Linked DNA regions of Homo sapiens: region 2 is linked to region 1. Evidence: promoter capture Hi-C in human tissues and cell types (Jung and others, 2019). All regions are on one chromosome and are shown on one strand. Each heading gives the region's core, a stretch centred on a gene start or on the middle of the fragment in contact. The rest is flanking DNA. Distances are from core to core; before and after follow the strand shown.

Evidence for each region. Contacts are between HindIII fragments. The study calls those that stand out against the background at their distance.
Region 2: a contact is called between a fragment that was not itself captured here and the fragment with the promoter of GPR26 in region 1, in 3 of the 25 tissues and cell types used here (adrenal gland, mesendoderm cells and neural progenitor cells).

Annotation. Positions count from the first base shown.
Region 1 is chr10:123,662,143-123,669,270 of GRCh38, reverse strand. GPR26 (G protein-coupled receptor 26) reads right to left here and starts at 2,916. Exons shown (of 3, transcript NM_153442.4): 1 at 2,196-2,916. The coding sequence starts at 2,863. RefSeq lists enhancers at 2,094-2,631, 2,632-3,170, 3,171-3,708. The HindIII fragment of the contact is 11,073 bases long and covers 1-5,645 here.
Region 2 is chr10:123,978,526-123,985,716 of GRCh38, reverse strand. No RefSeq gene overlaps it. Among named protein-coding and RNA genes, the nearest start is that of CPXM2, 90 kb to the right of the region's middle. The HindIII fragment of the contact is 4,578 bases long and covers 2,703-7,191 here.

The sequences.
Region 1 (7,128 bases), core at 1,667-4,166:
GTATTCACTAAAGGGGCAGTGCTATCAGGTCTGCCACTATTCCATGACCTCAGGGAGCATTAGTCCAGGGAGCCTGTTGGCACTGGCCGATGGCAACCCCGGCCCCAGAAGTCTTTTCTCTCTCCAATGAGACTGGGCCTGGAGGGTCCCAGGGCACTGGGAGCAGGGGCTCTTCAAAGCAGCCCGGGGCTAGGAAGAGATCAAGGTCCTCCCAGAGGAATGGAGGGGAAATCGAAGGCAAGCAGAGTAGCTGCCTCCACTCCTGAGACCCCAGGACTCTCTCTGCAGTGTCTGGCCTGACATCGGCCAGAGGGATTTGCAGGAGTGGAGCTGGCCCTACATCCCAAATAGGCTGAACAGGAACCACGGCCCCTCCTCTTCTGGAAGTTGGAGGAAGAGTGGGAATGCAGTTTGTACTGCTCTAAATAAGAACTGGTTCCACTCCCAGCTCAACCCTCCTCCGCTGTTAGACTCATGGTGAGAGGGCCCCCTCTAGGAGTCTTTAGTCCCGGGAGTTAAACAACATTGCCCTACATCTTCTAAGAGCAGTCCCAGCCCAAGCGCTAAGGATGCACCCTCTAAGGAAGAGCCTCTCAGCTCTGAGTCATGGAAAGGGCAATAGCTCTGCAACTGTGGCTGCAAATATTTCCTTGAAGGACACTGAACCATGCAGAGACATGTGCTGTGACAGCCAATGTATGTCTTTGTGGCAGAATGCACTCGTGTCACTCCTGTAAACCTGTGTACACATGGCCAGCTGTCTGGTACATATACAGTTTATGTGTGAACACATGAGATTGTGTGTGGAGCTCCCACGTTTACATGGCCTGGTATCTATGTGCTCTCAGTCACTCACATGTACATTCTGTTCCTGAATCTGTGGGGATTCTGTGGCTGGAAGATTGGTCCAGTGTGTAATCAGGAATGGCTGTGCTCAGGGGGACAATGAACACGTGCACACTTGCCCTTCAATGTGTCGGCATTGTGAAGGTCAAGGACTGCTTGTTACTGCTCTCGTGCAGGAAATACTCAGAATGCTCAGCCTGACACCTCCAGCCTGTCCCCTTCAACCCTGGTGTGGAACATATCCACCAGAGGATAGAGCTTCCTCTGCCCCGAGGCTCCCCTGGGTTCCCAGGGTTCTCCCACACGGAAGGCCCTCGCTGGCCCTGTCAGAGCTCTCTGCCTGCCTCACCTGCGACACCATCTGGACCCCAGCACCCCCTTATCTAGGGTCCCAGGACACAGAGCAGGGAGCCTGCCTTCCCCTGGGACAACAGGATGTAAAATAGCAGAGTCCAGACGCTGCCAGCTGTTTCCCTCCTCGATTTCCTATTCTCCTGGGGAAAGCTGAGGTGAGCTCAGGACAGCGCAGCTAAGAGTTCCCTCCTTCTCTCCCTGACAGGCTCCTGCGATGGCAGGGGTTCCCAGAGGGTACCCATGCTTGCCCAGCTCCATCTGCCCTCCTGAGAACAGCAGCCAGCGTGACGACGGAGGTGGGGGCAGATTCAGCCCCAGGAGCCTTGGGGCACACTCCTTCTGCAGGAGCCTCTAGGCACCAAGTCAGGCAGACATTGGACAGTGCTCTCTGGGGAGGGCAGGAAGAGCCCCCCACCCCACCCCTCAGGGCCCACCACAGAGAAGGACGCAGCCCGAGTCCATCAGAATTCACACACACACACACACACACACACACACACACACACACAGTCGTGAGACAGAGGCAGCGCCACACACCCGAGAAGGGAAAGACTCAGAGAAGCGACACACTTGGGTCTGAAAAGCTCTTAAGGAGCTCCCTAAGCATCGAGGCCGCCCTCTCGGCCAGAATCAAACACTTTGAAGGTCTTTAATAGGGAACAAAGACCACGGACTTCCCATGTGCCATTTAAAGTGAAAGCTACAAACACAGAAAATGTGCATGAAGAAGCCCAACAGAGTTCTGACTGTCTGTGATTTCTACCCTGATGCTTCAAAAACCGATGTATAGATGGGCTCACCCGCATTTTTTGTGGCCCTGGTTTGCTGATACCCTAAGCACCTCCTTAAGCCCCACAGCTGGGCCGCTTTCCCCACCCTCGAGTTCTCAGAAGAAACAGAGGCTCGGTGGAAAAGAGCCCCTGGGGCTAGGGACCTCCCACTCCCGCCGAGATCCCGCGCGGCTGTTCCCAGAGCCTTAGCTGCGCTCGGCTCACCTGGGGTGCAGGTCCACCAGCAGCACCAGCGTCTGCATGGTGATCACGTCGATGCGCTTGCAATGGAAGCGGGCCACCTTGAGCACCTTGAGGTACGTGCAGCAGAGCACGACGAAGGAGAGCAGGAAGCTGAGAGCGTGGAAGGCGCCAGTGAAGACGGCGAAGCGCAGGCGCTCGTCTGGCCGCCGGCTGCACAGCGTGCACGAGGCGTACAGCTGGTGGAAGCCGAGCCAGGACAGGGCGAGCGCGGCGGCTGGGAAGGTGAGCGCGTGCAGCCACGTGTAGGCCACCATGAGCGCCGCGTCGCGGAGGCGCATCTTGGCCCGGTAGCTCAGCGGGAAGACCACGGCCACCCAGCGGTCGATGCTGAGCGCGGCCATGCTGAGCATGGAGTTGGCAGCCAGGAAGGTGTCGAGGAAGGCAGCCAGGCGGCACAGGCGGTCGCCCGCCGGCTGCCGCTGCGCCACGACGCCGGCCAGCGTGAGCGGCATGTTGACCACGGTGCACAGCAGGTTCCCGCACGTGAGGTTCAGGGTGAAGAGCGCCGGCGCCTGGCGGCGGATGTCCGCGCTGTGCAGCAGGCAGAGCAGCACCAGCGCGTTGGACAGCAGCGAGACGCCCATCGTGCCCACCAGTAGCCCCGCCAGGCCCGCGTCCCACGAGTTCATGGTGCGCGCCCCGCGCCGGCGCTCAGGGTCCGCAACCCGGCGCCGCCATGGCGCTGCCCGCGGCCGGCTCAGCCCCTCGGCGCCGCCGCCGCCCGGCGACCACCGGCCCCAGCCGCCATGGCTCCCAGGAGGGCGCGCGGCCACCCCGGAGCCTCAGGCGGCCTCCCGGGCAGGCGTCTGGGCGCGCAGCCACCCGGGAGCCCCGCGCCGCCTCACGGGCAGGCACCTGGCGCGCGGCAGTGAACCCTGGCCCCCAGCAGCACCTCTGGAGCCAGCGACTGAGCGTGCGGTAGAACCCGAAGCCTTTAGCGCCCCGGGATCCTGGGTTGCAGGCACCTGCGCCCCTGCTCCGCCTCTGCCTCTGCTTCCTCCCGCTCTCACCCCATGCCCGCGAGCTCTGTCTCCGCTCCGCTCCGCGCACCCTCCCGCTCTCTTGCTTTCTCTCTTCCTCCCTCTCTGCTCTCTGGCTCGCTCTCTCTCTCTCTGCTCTCCCCTCCACCTCTCTCCCTCTCCCCGCCCCCCGCGCTGTTCTCTCCGTCTGTCTCTCCCACCCCCAATTTTCTCCCCTCTCTTGTTCTTCCCCCTCCTCTTCTCTCTGTCTCTGGAATCTGGCTGCTTCTATCACAGAAATCCCCACTGGTGCACACACAGACACACTCGCGCACACACACTCACACTTACAGGCTCGGAGGGAACCAGCCCCGAAGGCTCCGGTGCAGGGTGATTGGCTCACTGTGGCTCCCTTCCCCCAACATCCTCCATCCCCCCGTGTGTGTCAAAGACAGGCTGAGTCAAGGAAATCTCTCTGAGAAAAGGAAGGGATGCCTGGACACCTTCACGCCCCAGTGCCACCTGTCCCCGCCTGCATGCTATCCTGGCAGACCTTGACGTGAGTGTCCCAGCCTGTCTGTCCCAAGAACAGCTGCTGCATGACTGAGGTTACTCGATTCTCAGTGCCTTCTTTCCCTCGCCCTACAGCCAGAGCTTCGGCTGAATCCTAAGCCTGCTGCAGGGACCCCGAGGCTCTCTGTAACATCCCCTGGGCATCTCTCCAGCTGGGAGATGCCTTTGCTGACCCTGACTGCTCCCACCTGGGCAAGCCAGGCTGTCCACAACCAGCCTAGACAGCTAACCCTAGTATGGTGGATACTCTGTTGTCCTGCTCCAAGTTCCAGCAGCTGCCTCCTGTAGCCCTGAAGCCACACACCCCTCTGCCCTGAGACTGGTGAGGCAGCACATTCTAGTTTATGAGGGACCTGCCTGATATAAGGTGCCAGAACTCTTCAGAAAATGGGGAGGGTGTCAGCTGGCAGGCATGGTCCAAGCAACAGAGACCCTGGACACAGGGGACCCCTGCCTCCCCTCAGCAAAGTGTGCAGGGACTGTGGCCCTTCGGTTCTCAACCAAGACTCTGTGGGGAAGGGGTGGGGATGGACAGGCAGGGGCAGCTCTCAGAACCCCTGCAGCCCCCTTCAACTCTGTGAGATGCTGCCCTGCAGTGACCCCCTGCACCATGTCAGCAACCTCAGATCCCTGTCCTGGACATAGAAAGCCCTGTTCTGGAGCCTCCTGGTGTGGCCAGTGGTGACTGGACATTCCTGGGCCTCAAGCCACTAGATAAAGTAAGCCAAGCAAGGACGTGGTGGACTCTACGCCCTGAAGGTAGAGACCTCATTATACTTAATTATCTCCTTCACATAGTACCAAGCACATTGTAGATGCTGTATTGTGCCATTTTTCTTTGCTGTAAAGGAATACCTGAGATTGGGTAATTGATGAAGAAAAGAGGTTGAATTGGCTCATGATTCTGCAAGGTATGCAATCATGGCTCCAACATCTGCTCAGCTTCTGATGAGGGCCTCAGGAAGCTTCTAATCATGGCAAAAGGCAAAGTGGGAGCAGGCATGTCACATGGCAAGAGTGAAAGCCAGAAAGAGAAGGGGGAGGTCCCAGGCTTTTAAACACCATATCTCTCATGGACTGAGAAGTCATTCAGGATGGTGCCAACCCATTCATGAGGGCTCTGCCCCCATTATCCAATCGCCTTCGCCTCCCACCAGGGCCCACCTCCAACATTGGGGATTATGTTTCAACATGAGATTTGGAGGGGACAAACATCCAAACTTTATTAAATGCTCATGAAATGAGGTGTCAGGAGGGCAGAAACAAGATTCCCTCTCTTCTCTGTGTGTCCACAGATGACACTCATTGACAGTTATCTGAGTGACTGACAGCTGCAGACAGTGGAGTTCTGAAGCCAGCTCACACCAGCTCAAAAGGGCCCATTATGGGCATCTCTCTCCATCTCTGCTTCAGTGACAGCATGTTGGTTGCTTAAAATCCACCACAATGAGTTTTTGCATTATAGAAATCAGCAAACTCCATAGATCAGGGCTTCTCCCACCCCAGCCTGTGGTTAAACATTTAACGACACACCACTCACTGATTTCATAGGACCCTGGGCAACTTACTCAACATCCCTGAGGCTAGGTTTTCTTATTTACCTTTCAGAGCCGTGGTGATGACTACATAAGGTAATGTGTACGTTTAGCTTTGCTTCCCAGAGAAGGAAACAGGGCAGAATGCTAGCAATATCATCAACCCTTGGCCCCCTCATGTAGCCTACAGATTTTAGTGTTGGCTACATGTCTCATTAAATACCTGTTATATGACAGCAGAGGACGCTGTTCATCTGTGTGTCTCTCCTGCTGCCAAGGAAGTGTCCCCTACAAATAGCTCCTGGCAGGAGATAGGAGCTATTTGTGCTATAGTTTGAATGTGTCCCCCAAAGTTCATGTGTTGGAAACCTGACCCCCAATGCAACAGTATTGGGAGGTGGGTCCCAATGGGAGGTGTTTGACTCATGGAGGCACTGCCTTCATAAGTGGATTAGTGCCATTATCATGGGAATGGGTTCCTTATTAAAGGATGAGTTTGCCACCACCCCCTCCTTCTCTCTCTCTCTCTCTCCCTGTGTGTCTCCCTCCCTCTGCTCTTCCACTTTCTGCCAGGGGATGATGTAGCAAAAAGTCCCTCACCATATGCCAGCCCCTGAATTTTGGACTTCCCAGCCTCCAGAACCATGAACAATAAATTTCTATTCATTACAAATTACCAAGTCTCAGGTATTCTGTTATATCAGCACAAAATAGACTAAGATAGTGCCCAAGTACTGTCTGTGGAGTAAATCAGCCAATGTTTTGGGGTCACTATTGGATCTGTGATTCTCACACTTTTGTGTGTATCAGAGTCACCTGGTAAGCCTGGGGTGCTGGTTAAAGAGTTTGATTCCTGGGCCACACCCCCTGGGGTTTCCAAATCAGAAGGTCTGGAAGTCTGCATTTTCATGAGCTCCTTAGATAGTTCTGGTGAGGGTGGTCTGTGGTCATGCTCTCAGGAGTGTGCTCTATGAGAAATGGTCAGGGTAAGCCACTGGATGCCAAACAATCACCTGGGCACATCCTCCAACCATGACCTGATGTTCTGGCCTGGAGGCACTCACTGAAGCCTCACCAGAGACTCTAGACATGCGGGATCCCATTTATATTTTTATATCTTTATATAAATATTTATTTATATTTATATTGACAATATAACATGTCAATTAATATTCTCCTAGCACATTGGAGTTTATAAAACATGTCCAAACATTACCATACTTTATTTAGTTCTTGCAACAAAGACAGGAAGAAAAGCTTCTATTGCTGCCCCACGTTTTCCAGATGAGAACCCAAAGACTCAAAGAAGTTAAGTGACAGAGTTGGTGAGGGATGAAGCCAGTACCTCTAGCTCCATGGCTTGGCTCTTTCTGCACACTCCAGAGGTCCTCAGCCACCTTCTCAGGAAGGTGTCCTTGGGCTGTAACTTAAAAGTGTCTCAATTTTGCAACACCAAACTGATGTTGGTGACTTGGTAACTAGGTCCAACATCAATAAACAAATGAACACACACACACACACACACACACACACATTTATATACCCTCTCACATATTTTAAAGATCATTTGCTTTCTGAATTCCTAAAGGCAACATTGAAAGGTTAAAATGCCAGAAAGACACTCAGAATATATTAACTCAGTTTCCTAAAGAGACTGAGCTCATTTTCCTCTAGTTTTAAGCAAAATTTCCTGCCTTCAGTTGGACCATGGTTTGAGGGGGCGCTGATATCCCATAGTAACCAGGGCCCCAATCCTGTTAGCTTCAGCCAGGCTGAGCCTCCCCAAACATGGATTCCAACATGGCCCCAGACACCAGTTGGCAGTGA
Region 2 (7,191 bases), core at 3,742-6,241, 310 kb before region 1:
ACAGTCAGAATTGTATATGCTGAACCAACTGAGATATCTATGGTCTTGCCTATTTTTTCTTCTGTGAATTGTCAGTCCTCTTCAGTTAGGGCACAAAGAAGCTTAATTTTTTCCTCGAAAATTGATGTGGATGATCTGCTGCTGTTGGCCAAACTTCTGCATGTTCCCATCCCTTTGAGTTATCCTTGTGTAAACTGCTGATCTCACTGGGGCATTGTTCTAATAAGCTTTTTGAAAAGCATCAATTATTTCATCATTTGTCCATCCAAGCTTCACCATAAATTTCGTGTTTGTTCTTGCTTCAATTTTAGCAGAATTCATGTTGCTCTGACGGGGCTCTGATACGGTTTCGATCTGGGTCCCCACCCAAATCTCATGTTGAATTGTAATGTTCAGTGTTGGAGGTGGGGCCTGGTGGGAGGTGATTGGATCATGGAGATGTTTCTCCAGAATGGTTTAGTACCATCCCCTTGGTGCTGTTCTCATAATAGCGAGTACATGAGTTCTCACAAGATCTGATTGTTTAAGTGTGTAGCACTTACCCCCTTCCTCTCTCTTGCTACTGCTTTTGCCATGTGACATGCAAGTTTCCACTTTACCTTCTGCCATAATTGTAAGCTTCCAGAGGCCTCCCAGAAGCAGACTCCAGTACTGTGCTTCTTGTACAGCCTGCAGAACCGGGAGCCAATTAAATCTCTTTACTTAATAAATTACCCAGTCTCAGGTATTTTTTTTATAGCAATGTGAGAACAGCCTAATACAGGCTGTTTTTAAGTCCATGTCTTACCCTTCTTAGTTCCTCAAACTAGATCCTGCTCAGGCCCCTATTATAAGTTAGTATGTGTTTATTTCTGTGCAAAAATTTTTGCAATCCATGCGTAGTTTTTTTCATAATATGCACTTTCCATGAACTTCTTGAAGACCCCTCACACTGTATCATGTATTTCAAAATAATTAGAAGAGAGGATTTTGAAGGTTCTCATCACAAGGAAATGATAAATGTTTGAGGTGACGGATATGCTTAATACCATGATTTTATCATTACAGAATGCATACATGTATTAAAACATGACACTGTACTTCATAAATAGGTACAATTATTGTGTGTCAATTAAAAATAAAATATAACAACAACAAAATGAACTACTAGATTCTAGGTTGGTCCTCATTCATTATTCCTCATAATCTTAATCTTTTCAGATTTTCTCTTAATCTTAATTCCTTTTAATCGTTTTCAGATTTTCTTTTTCTTTTTTTTTTTTTTTTTTTTTTTTTTTGAGATGGAGTCTCGCTGTGATGCCCAGGCTGAAGCGCAGTGGCGCAATCTCAGCTCACTGCAAACTTCCACCTCCCAGGTTCACACCATTCTCCTGCCTCAGTCTCCCAAGTAGCTGGGACTACAGGTGCTTGCCACCAGGCCCAGCTAATTTTTTTGTATTTTTTTAGTAGAGACAGGGTTTCACCATGTAAGCCAGGATGGTCTCAATCTCCTGAACTCGTGATCCGCCCTCCTCAGCCTCCCAAAGTGCTGGGATTACAGGCATGAGCCACTGCACCCGGCTTCTTTTTTTTTTTTTTCAACTTTTATTTTAGTTTCAGAGGTATATGTGCAGGTTGATTCTAGGGATAAATTGCATGTTGTGGGGATTTGGCGTACATATTACTTCATCACCCAGGTAATAGGCATAGTACCTGATAGGTAGTTTTTTTGGTCCTCACCCTTCTCTCATTCCTCACCCTCCAATCGGCCCCCAGTGTCTATTGTTCACTTCTTTGTGTCCATGTATACTCAATGTTTAGCTTCCACTTACAAGTGAGAATACATGATGTTTGGTGTTTTGTTCCTGCATTAATGTGCCTAGGATAATTGCCTCCAGCTCCATCCATGTTCCTGCAAAGAACAGATCTTGTTCTTTTTAATGGCTGTGTAGTATTCCATGGTGTATACGTACCACATTTTCTTTATTCAGTCTACAATTGATGGGCATTTAGGTTGATTTCTTGTCTTTGCTATTGTGAATAGTGCTGCAATGAACACATGTTTGCATGTGTCTTTATAGTAGAGTGATTTATATTCCTTTGAGTATAAACCCAATAATGGGATGGCTGGGTCAAATGGTAGTTCTGTTTTAAGTTCTTTGAGAAATCACCGAACTGCTTTTCTACTACAGTGGTTGAACTAATTTGCATTCTCATTAGCAGTGTATAAGTTTTCTCTTTTCTCTACAGCCTTGCCAGCATCTGTTATTTTTTGATTTTTTAGTAATAGCCATTCTGACTGGTTTGAGATGGTCATTTCATTGTGGTTTTGATTAGCATGTCTCTAATGATTAGTGATGTTGAATATTTTTTTGTATGCTTGTTGATTACATATATGTCTTCTTTTGAAAAGCGTCTGTTCATGTCCTTTGCCAACTTTTTAATCGGGTTGCTTGTTTTTTGCTTGTTAGTTCTTTTAAGTTCCTTATAGTGTCTGGATATTAGACCTTTGTCAGATGCATAGTTTGTAAATATTTTCTCCCATTCTGTGGGTTGTCTATTTACTCGGTTTTACAGTTTCTTTTGCTGTGCAGAAGCTCTTTAGTTGAATTAGGTCCTATTTGTCCATTTCAATTTTTGTTGCAATTGCTTTTGGCATTTTTGTCATAAAATCTTTGTCAGGGCCTATCTCTACAGTGGTATTTCCTAGGTTTTCTTCAAGGCTTTTTATAGTTTTAGGTTTTACATTTACATTTTTAATTTTGAGTTGATTTTTGTATATGGTGTAAAAAAGGGGTCCAGTTTCAATCTTCTGCATATGGATAACCACTTATCCCAGCACCATTTGTGGAACAAAGAGTCCTTTCCCCATTGCTTTTTTGTTGTTGCTGATTTTGTCCAAGATCAGATGGCTGTAGCTCTAAGGCTTTATTTCTGGGCTCTCTATTGTGTTCCATCAGTCTATGTGTCTATTTTGTACATGCTGTGGTGGTTACTGTAGACTTGTAGTATAGTTTGAAGTAGGGTAATGTGATGTTTCCAGCTTTGTTCTTTTTGCTTAGGATTGTGTTGTCTATTTGGGCTCTTTCTTTCGTTCCATATAAGTTTTAGAATAGTTTTGACTAAGTCTGTGAAGAATGTCATTGGTAGTTTGATAGGAATAGCATTAAATCTGTAAATTATTTTGGGCAATATTGCCATTTTAACAATATTGATTCTTCCTATCCATGGACATGGAATGTTTTTTCATTTGTTTGTGTCATCTTTGATTTCTTTCAGTAGGTTTTGTAATTCTGGTTGTAGAGATCTTTCACCTACCTGGTTAGCTGTATTCCTAGGTATTTCATTCCTTTTGTGGCTATTGTGAATGGGATTGTGTTCTTGATTTGGCACTCAACTTGGATGATATTGATGTACAGAAATGCTGCCAATTTTTGTACATTGGTTTTGTATCTGGAAACTTGGCTAAAGTTGTTTATCAGGTCTAGGAGCTTTTGGGCAGAGGCTGGGGTTTTCTAGGTATAAAATCATATTGTCTGCCAACAGAAAGTTTGACTTCCTCCATGGATGCTTTTTATTTCTTTCTCTTTCCTGACTGCTCTGGCTAGGACTTCTTGTACTATGTTGAAAAGGAGTGGTAAGAGTGGGCATCTTTGCCTTGTTCTGGTTCTCAAAGGGAATGCTTCCAGCTTTTGCCCATTCAGTATGATGTTGGCTGTGGGTTTGTCGAAAATGGCTCTTATTATTTTGAAACATGTTCCTTCAATGCCTACTTTGTTGAGGGTGTTTAACAGGAAGGGATGCTGAATTTTATTAAAAGCCTTTTCTGCATTTATTGAGATTACCGTGTGGTTTTTGCCTTTAGTTCAGTTTATGTGATGAATACATCTATTGATTTGTGTGTGTTGACCCAACTTTGTATGCCAGGGAAAGCCTACTTGATTGTTATGGATTGGCTTTTTGATGGGCTTTGGATTTGGTTTGCTAGTATTTTGTTGATGATTTTTGCATCTATGTTCAAGGATATTGTCCTGAAGTCTTTTTTTTGTTGTTGTTGGGTCTTTGCCAGGTTTGGTACTGGAATGATGCTGGCCTCACAGAATGAGTTAGGAAGGAGTCCCTCTTCCTCAATTTTTTGGAATAGTTTCAGTAGGAATGGTACCAGCTCTTCTTTGTATGTCTGGTAGAATTAGGCTGTGAATCCATCTAGTCCTGGGCTTTTCTGGTTGGCAGGATATTTATTACTCATTCAATTTCAGAACTCATTGTTGGTCTGTTCGAAGTTTGAATTTCTTCCTGGTTCAGTCTTGGGAAGTTGCATGTTTTCAGGAATTTATTCATTTCTTCTAGGTTTTCTAGTTTGTGTGCATAGGGATGTTCATAATAGTCTCTGATGTTTTTTAATATCTCTGTGAGGTCAGTGATAATGTCCACTTTGTCATTTCTAATTGTGTTGATTTGGATCTTCTCTCTTTTTTTCATGAGTTTAGCTAGTAGCCTGTCTATCTTACGTATTTTTTCAAAGAACAAACTTATGGCTTGTTGATCTTTTGTATGGTTTTTCATGTTTCAATTTCACTCAGTTAGCTCTTTTTCAGATTTTATACCTCTTCATATCTGCATTGTATTCTGTGAAATTCTCTTACATTTATCTCCCAGTTCACCAAATCTTCCTACTTGTCTAAACCATCAATTCTGCTATTTAAACTATTAAGTTTTTAAATGACTTTTGGGGTTCATTTTCAGTCTGAGAACTACAATTTGGCTCATGTTCAGGTCAGGCTGTTATTATTTTTTAAATAGAAGCTTATTTTTTCAACATGATTTTTATCCCTTCTTTATGTGTTTAATCATTTAAAATGTATTTGGTATATAATTTGATTTGGGCTATTCTGTCATCACAAGTGTCTGGGGGATCTAATTATGCTGTTGATTGTATCTGCTGACTTCCCTTATTGTGAATTGTTTCTTTGTGTAGTTTGTGATTTTAAAAAAATCATTGGAAGTTTTCTTCAGCTGGTGTTGCCATTGTTTTCCCCTGTGGGAGTCTCATGTGGCCTGGCATTGAAGATGTCTTTAGAAAAGGAGTTCTCTTTGCTTTAGTTTTGGAGCCAAGGGATCACTCTTCTGAAATTCATTATATATATATAAATATATTGTATATAATATAATTATATTTTATAAATATATCATATATATGTAATTATATTTTATAAAAATATCTATATAATTGATTATATTTTATTTATAATTATATTTTATATATATTTGGTTTGGGATTTCCTTACTTTGTGGGAAGTATAAATTAAAACTTTACATCTGATTGGGATGGAATGAGTTTGGAGTTTCCATTTCCAGTGGGATATTTTTCCCCTTTGCTTTTTCTGTGCAGTCAAGCTTGGTTCTGGAGATTTTGCTTGAGTTTTTCTAGTTCCTCTTATAAGAAGGGGGCAGTCTTCCAGGGTCTCAACTCTACTCAGAGTTCTTAGTTCACCTCTGCCTCATGCAGGTCAAAGTCATATTCCGTTTCTCCTAATCAGCATCAAAACCCAGCTGTGAGCCCTTAGGACATGTGTTCACATTTGATGTTTCCCTGGGCTCCTGGTGTGTTGGCTCATGGATTACCCGCTGGCTGTAGTTTCTATTTTATTTCTGTTCAAGAAGTGTCTTTTTTCCTTCCTTCAAGTTTTCCTATGAATTAAAAGGACATTGACATATATTTGGAGGCAGAGATTGCTAGCATAGCAGAAAAGGAGATTTCCTAATTAACTTTTTGTTATTAATTTCTAGATTAATTTCACAGTGGTCAGAGGGTTAATTTCACAGTTGTCAAGAGTGATTCAAATCCCTTGAAATCTGTTGAGAATTGTTTTATGACCCAGCATATGACTGATTTTATTAAATGTTATGTGTGCACTTAAAAAGAATGCATATTCTGTCATTGTAGGATACAGTGTTAATTAGGTCAGGCTAATTGTGCTATTACTGATTTTCTGTTTGCATTTCTATCATATATTGAGAGGAGTGTGTTTGTGCCTCTGAATATTATTGTGAATTTGTCTCTTTTTCTTTTTTAGTTCTGTCTGTTTTTGCTTTATGAGTGGATTGATCCTTTTATCATTGCAAAGCAACTGCTTTATGTCTAGCAATGCTTCTTACCTTCCAGTCTACTTTTCTGATATTAGAATAATGATACCAGCTTTCTTTTGTTTAGTGTTTATCTGGCATAGCTTTTTTCAACTTTGACTTTCATCCTTTTTTGCTTTTGAGGTGGGTCTCCTGTAACCAGTATATACTTGAGTTAATAAAATCAGATCTGACTATTTTGGTCTTACTTGAAGTATTTAGTCAATTTATATTTGACATAATTATTAATATATTAGAATTTATAGTTACCATTTTACTTTTTGTGTTGTACCCATTTTATGTTGCTTTTCCATGTCTTGGGTTTTTTTTTTACTTTCTTTTGGATGAATAGTTTTATTATTCTATTTTCCCTATATAAACTTGGTACTTAAGTATTTTAGTAACTACTGTAAATGTTGCAACATGTATCCTTGATTTAATATTGTCTAATATAATTTAGGACTTTTATTTCTTTTACACAATGTTGAGACCTTAGAATACTTTATTGCTCCCATTCTTTTCCTTTACTCTTGTCAATATATATTTTAAATCCCACTAGACATCATTTTTGATGTTTCGTATGGTTAATATTTATTTATATTTACATATATACTCTTTCTGTAGCTTTCAATTTCTTCATGCATTTCAGTTTTTAAATCTGGGTTCTTTTCCTTTGTCTGAAGAATTTCTATTGGCATTTATTTTACACTGGGTTTTTCTGTTTTGGTGTCTTTAAATAATATTTTCCCTTCATTTTTGAAAGATGTTTTGGAAATTGCCTTTGCAAAAATTAGAACAGTGAGAAAATTATGATAGTGAAAGATCTAATCAACTCCATCTTGCTTTTAACCTCCAAACTGCCCTTGGCCATTCCTGAGCATGGGCCAGACTAACTTTGGGAGACTAAAACATAATAGCTCTTCCCAAAACTAAGCCACCTTTGCAAAACTAATGAAAGGCAACCAGGTTAGGAAGATTAGAGGGACCTGAATTCTGCTAAGATGCAGGCATAGTTAAATGATTACCAGCCATTATTCTGGAAGTCACAAGATTTGCAACTTCTTCAATGACTCCTGTAAAGAGCAT